Regions from separate parts of the Homo sapiens genome. Here region 1 is linked to region 2. The links are contacts of gene promoters, found by promoter capture Hi-C in blood cells and fetal thymus (Javierre and others, 2016). All regions are on one chromosome and are shown on one strand. Each heading gives the region's core, a stretch centred on a gene start or on the middle of the fragment in contact. The rest is flanking DNA. Distances are from core to core; before and after follow the strand shown.

Region 1 (3,058 bases), core at 369-2,868, 230 kb after region 2:
CAGTACCAATGCTCAGCACATTGCAGCCACTAATAAATATTTGCTGAAAGGATGGAGAAACCAACATACCTTATAGCTATTAAGGGTGTTGATCAGAGAGGATGAAGATGGTTATCTGTCTTTAGCACCACCCCAAACAGCACGATCCGGACAGTAACCTGGATCTCCACCTACACACATTCTTAGAGGATAGGAGCCACCGCCAAAGAAAACCGCCCATGGTAGTTGCACAGTGAGATCTGAAGTCAGAGTATTGCTACATAGTATTAACTTTTCAGTGAGGTATTTTGGAATGCTTACAACTGTGAAGCTCAAGAGATAGATTAATGTGAAATCTCTAAGTGAGTTCCTGAAAAAAAATTGAGAACAACAAAAACAATTTTTTATATATTTAATGCTAAGCAATTTAAAAAATGTTTTCGGACAGGTGCGGTGGCTCACGCCTGTAATCCCAGCACTTTAGGAGGCCGAGGCGGGCCGAGGTCAGGAGTTCGAGACCAGCCTGGCCAAAATGGTGAAACCCTGTCTCTACTAAAAGTACAAAAATTAGCTGGGTGTGGTGGCCTGTGCCTGTAATCCCAGCTACTCGGGAGGCTGAGGCAGGAGAATCGTTTGAACCCGGGAGGCAGAGGTTGCAGTGAGCCGAGATGGCGCCATTGCACTCCAGCCTGGGCAACAGGGCAAGACACCATCTCAAAAAGACAAAAAGTTTAAAAAATTTTCATATGCTCTATTTTATTTGAGTCTGTCACCTGCCTGATTTAGGGATGGTGGATAGTATTATTCTCAGTTTGCAGGTAGAAATATGAAGACTTATGGAGACTAAGTGACCTGTACAAGGGCAGGCAACTGTACAACTGGCATTAGAGTAGTCTCAGACTCAAATCAAGACTTCTGATTTGAAGTTCCTTATTTTCCTCTATCGCACTCCATTAATTTATTTAATGTACATTATTGAACACCAACTATTTCAGGTACTGTGTTAGGTGCAGCATATAATAAGAAAGTTGATAATCTGTCTATTTTACAATTAAAAAAAGAATGTGCAATACATGCACTTGGGGAAAAATTCAGTACAGTAACTGCTACTCTTCTCCCCTCTCCCTCTTCTCCTAATCCCTCTCTCCTGATATAATCACTGTTATCTGGAAATCTTTGACTATACAGGCTAAGTCCCCTGTATCTGCCGCGAGGTCCTTCCTGGAGGTGCTGACTGGACTAGCTGATGTTGGCTAGATGACCGCCAACCAGATGACCTTGGCTAACTGATCTTATCCCTTGGGCCGCTGTGGCACAGGATGAGTGAGCTACGCCTGGTAACAAGAGTGCCACTCTCGTGTAAGGGGGCTGCGAAGTAGAAAGGAGGCCAGCCCTTTGGAAGATGTTTCTAGAGGGTGTGGGCAGAACCAAGTCTCGGTAGTTAGGAAGATCTTGGCTCCAAAGTTTAACTTGCAGCGTCCCGGCCGGGTTCACAGCGCATGGGACAGGGGGGGCGGGGCGATGCGGAGGCGGAGCGGGGCGATGCGATGCGGGGCGGAGCGGGGCGGGGCGGCGACGCGCGGCGCGGTGCGGCGCGCGGCCGACGTGGCAGCCGCAGGAGCATGCGCCGCCCGTGGCCATCTTGTAGGCGGGGACACGCCGAGGTAACTTCCAGGGTGCGCCTTCGTTGTCTTCTCCAAGCTGTAGTTCTACGTCCCGACCTCCCTATCATACCACACTCTTCAGCGACCACGCAGGCACTTTCCCGGTCCCCAGGTGAGCGCCAGGTGGCTCCGAGGGGCGTGTATGAGGGGGGTGGCATGGCATGGCATGGCTTGCAGGCGCCAGAGCCAGACCCCGAGGGACGGTGTCCCTGGAAGGTGGGCGGGCCGGCCGGCGCCACTGGACGCCGATGTCGTTTGCGAGCCCCCTAGTCCCGTGGTCCAGGCTCAGCTGTGGCGGCGTGCGGGGTGCAGCAGGCAGGAGTGCACATCGCAAGGTGAGCAGTTTCCGCTGGGGATGGCACGGTGGGCGCGGTTCGAGGGTCTCGCCCCGCGACACTTTGCTCCTGTCCAAGGACCAAGGCAGGAGCGCTCTGGCCCCACCTTCCAGGGCGCTGACTTTAGGGGAGACTGGCGGGAGCGCCGGCGGACCTTAGCCCGGCCCTGTCTGGCCTGGAGACGTGGCAGAGCCTGAGGGGAAGCCGCTGTCTCCTGAAACAGGATTTCGGCCGCTCTGGCCCTGGAGAGGCCCAGGAGGCTCGAGAGTCATCACACCAGGACCTGCAATGAAAGGAAGCTTATTTTCCCTGAGGTTACCCCATCGGTGCTTAGCGCCGCTTGGGAGAGTTTTTGCATTCTCTCGTTTCTTTGTTTGGTCTTGGGACCTGCTTCAGGCAAATTTGCAGATAGCACGTTTCCTAGATTGACAGAATTTATAGCCAATAGTGTTTTTGTCATTCGAAGTAGTTATTTTGAGAGACAACATGTGCATTTCTGCGATCGTGACACATCTTGGCATTCAGTCTTTCTCCTGTGCAGCCAGTGTTTAATTCAGTGAAAATTTATAAAATTTTATTTCGGGGTCAGATTAGGCTCTAACTAGCGCTCACTGTTTGGTAGTAGAGACAATCTTGTGGCACGAGTAGGTCAGCAATAATTGCTCTTAATGCTTTAAAGTTTATCAGAGCTTCACTCTTCCATTTCTTGTAAACTTGTAAATAGACATCCACTTTTTTTTTTTTTTTTTAACAGAAAAACCAAGGCACAAGCAAATTGGAACAACAGGGTCTAGCCGGACTGAGAACTCAGTTTTCCAAACCATTTTCTTCACTTTTTCTTTAGTGTTGATATATGAATAGTACTTTTCGTGACAAGACTTGAGCCCTAAAACAGTTACCAACTCTGACACTTCAGTATTGTTTTATCATAATAGGTTTTTTTAGTAGAAGGCACTATGTTTATGCATGTAAAATTTACCTCAGTATTGCCATTACGGCAGTTTTCATATAAAAAGCCATTAAAGACAAAGAAATTGATTATTTATTCCACTTAATGACTTTGTATTCATTGTACAGTTT
Region 2 (3,231 bases), core at 265-2,764:
ATAAAGCAAAATATCTTTGGGTAATAAGTGGCATGAACTAACAGCCAATTTCCTTAGAAAACAGCCATATGGATTAATCACCTCTAGAATTATTTGTGCCTGTGCTGCCCAGATCAAAGTTCCAACTCCTGGCAGAGAGGGCCTGAGGGGCTTAGCTGAGGTCAGTTGCTCTCTTCTGGACAGGGAAAAGCTGGACCATCCTGACTGACCTTCCACCCAGACTGCTGTCCTTGTGGCAGGGATGGTATCTCAAAGAAAAATGGAGGTACTGTTACCAGAGAAGGGGCAATGATGACTGCTAAACAAACAAATAAACAAACACCAAAACAGTCTTCCCCTGTGTATTTCCAGGGAGAGTAAAGAGGATGGTGAGGGGCTTCAAACATATCTATGTTCATTCATTCCATTCATTTATTCACTCAAACATAATATGGAGTCTGTACTATTTTCCAGGAGCGTTATTGAGTAGGGACTCGAACGCTCTTGAAGTCTCTCTAAAAAGAAAGAGTTCTTATTAATGGGAGGAAGAGAAGCCTGGTAGGAGATGGTTACCTGGAGTGGTTATGGGGCTTAAACCTGTTTTTGTTTTTTTGTGGGGAGAGGGGGATAGAATTCAACGACACAAGAAAGAACTTTGCAGCAGTCAAATTTGTATCTTTTGGGGTCCTGTAAAAGCTGGAAAACTCTTTAGTCTGGAAGAGGAAGATGGACAGTCAGAGAAGCAGATTCCAGAATTCATGTCCTGTCTAACCCACAAATGGAAAAGCCCGTTCATGGTTTTAACATTCCATCACTGGGCCTCCCGGGGCCTCCTCGGCGAGTCGGCAGAGGGAGCCATTCCCCAATAAATTGCCGCGCGAGGCCTCCGAGGACCTGGGGGGATTTTCCTGCGCGTCCGGGGAGTTCTCTCTCCGCCCCTCCATGGTAAAGCAGACTATCCCACCCTCCACCCTCTGCCTTCACCTCCCCGCCCCACCTTTCCATGTACTTTGCTGCCACATCACATTCTCTGGCACGGCTTAATCACCATCCTTTCTGGGTCCCACCTTTGCGCTTTCTCCCCTGACACCACTGAGGACCCGCCGTCCACTCCAGTTGGCCGCTCGGGCGCCGGCCACCGTCCCACAAATCCTTACAGAGGGTCTAGAACACCTCCCAGGGACTCTGCCGAGGGACTTGCACCCAACGTGGGTTGGGAATCAGGCGGGCACCCACTCTGACACCCCTTCGGTCACCCCCTGCGGTGACCCCAACATTTGCTAACTTCGCGACCAGGCCTTTGGCGGGGTCACCCACCAGGCGGTGGAAGCCGCTCAGGCAGGGGCGACTCACGATCGAGGTGCAGCAGTCAGGCCGGGAAGATCCTGCATGTTGCGCTAGGGACTGCGCGCGGCGCCAAGCGACAACCCCCCAGCGGCCACTGCCCCGGCAGCAGCAGCTGCAGCAGCGGCAACTGCTCGAATCCCGGCCCCGGCTCGGGTTACCCGCCCCCACCCCCTCCAGCATCTCGGGCCAGACAGAGAAAACCTTGTTCAAGTTTGCAGCAAGTACTTTCCCGGTGCGCAAAACTGGGCGACTGGGAACGCGTTGAGACGTTCCTCTTTCCCGCTTCTCCACCTTTACGCCTGAAAGAAGACTCCCAAAGATTGCTTTCTTCTGGGACGCTGCTTGGACGCTAACCGCGTTGATTGGAACAGATTTTGTGTCTTGGCTGGCTTTGGGTGAAGACCGGGGAGAAAAGGTTGCGCTGCGATTCTCAAGATCTCTGGACCTGGGTAAGAGTTGGGCAAACTCAACTCCGGCGGCTCCTGGACCTTGGCCGGACGCCGGAAGGCTTCTCATGGGCGGGGGTCACATTTTCCTTAGCCAGGGTACCGGGGTGCGGCGTGAGGTGGGGCGAGATGGGCTCAGTCTGCGTTGTTCATGCGCTTCTTAAGGGTTTATTGTTGTTTGCATTTGGTTTTGTTACATGGGATTGTGTAGGAAAATCCTGGAGTATTTTTGATGGAGAGACATCCTCATTACGCATTTTATTTTGCATAATTCCTGCCCTTGTATTGCCTTACCTTGTGTTTGTTTCATTTTGCCGGGCGATATAGCTGGATGTAGGGAGATTTGTGGGGAATCGGACTGAGCTTGAAAGGCAGTTTCAGCTGGGCCCTTTCTTCTAGGTCAGTTGAACTTCCTTTCTGGGATCTTCACTGTTTTCTAAACTTCTCTTTCTCCCGTCCTTGGTATTCAGATTGTGCAGATAACGCTCTAGGCTGGCGGGATGCTCCCCTTTCCTGAGTTCTCAGCGATCAGTAGGGGTGTGAGGTCGCAGTCTTAGACCAAAGGGGCCTTGTCAGTATGCTTGGCTCCTTAAGGAGTGCTGGGAGGGACGGTTTTTCAAGTGATAGTTACTTAAGAAAGATAAATCCGGTGTTGATCTTTTTCTTTTAAATTCCTTGTTAGAGGACTTTTACGCCTGGTTTAAGGAAGTGTTTTGGCCTTAATTTTCTTTCTGGAAGTATTTTTCTTAGTGACACCACTGAGCAAATGAATGATGGCAATATCTTTGCTGCTTCTTTAGAAAATATCCTCACGCAAGGACCCACATTATTTAGGAGAAAGTCAAAGTTGGAGATCTTATTAGCCAAAATTAGCCATTATTATTGTTCTTAGGCTGTGATAACCATGCTGTGCCAAGGCAGAAGAGAATGACATTTCTTCTTGTTCTTCTTGCCTTACTCCTTTATATCCTGGGTCTCACTTTGTGTATAGGGTTCCCAAATAAAAATGCTTCATTCCTTATGGACAGAAATACTGGGGCCAATTTATATTATCCAGAAATGTCATCTTCCTGACACGAGTGCTCCAAGAGGTCAGCTTGCAGGGAACTTTTAATTTTACCACTGAGAGTTCAAAGAGTTCAGTTGGTAAACTCTGGGCACCCGCCAGCCTGGGTTCAGCTCACAACTCTGCCACTTTTCAGTTCTGTGATTTTGGGGTAAGTTACTTAATCTGTTTATCCACATATGTAAAATCAAAATGATAATAATAGCACTTACATCAGACAATTGTTAAAGGGATTAAGTAAGTTAATGCATGTGAAGGACTAACAAGCCTGACACATAGTAGGCACAAATTAGCTTTATTATTATTGTATAGCTAGCATTAACTATTGTTGTATCCCTCTAGTATAGCTTCTATTAGCTGTCAGTAAGTGTTAGCTATTATTCCTATTTGGAT

Evidence for each region. The method cuts DNA at HindIII sites, captures the fragments that hold promoters and counts their contacts. A CHiCAGO score of 5 or more calls a contact.
Region 1: a contact is called between the fragment with the promoter of PRRC1 here and the fragment with the promoter of MEGF10 in region 2, in 5 of 17 cell types (megakaryocytes, endothelial precursors, erythroblasts and 2 more). The highest score is 10.2, in megakaryocytes.

The regions. Positions count from the first base shown.
Region 1 is chr5:127,516,022-127,519,079 of GRCh38, forward strand. It overlaps PRRC1 (proline rich coiled-coil 1), which reads left to right and starts at 1,619. Exons shown (of 9, transcript NM_130809.5): 1 at 1,619-1,755. RefSeq lists a silencer at 1,487-1,556 and an enhancer at 1,617-1,796. The HindIII fragment of the contact is 4,735 bases long and covers 1-2,275 here.
Region 2 is chr5:127,289,282-127,292,512 of GRCh38, forward strand. MEGF10 (multiple EGF like domains 10) reads left to right here and starts at 1,515. Exons shown (of 25, transcript NM_001256545.2): 1 at 1,515-1,775. LOC105379199 reads right to left here and starts at 1,455. Exons shown (of 4, transcript XR_007058921.1): 1 at 1,297-1,455. The HindIII fragment of the contact is 5,574 bases long and covers 1-3,231 here.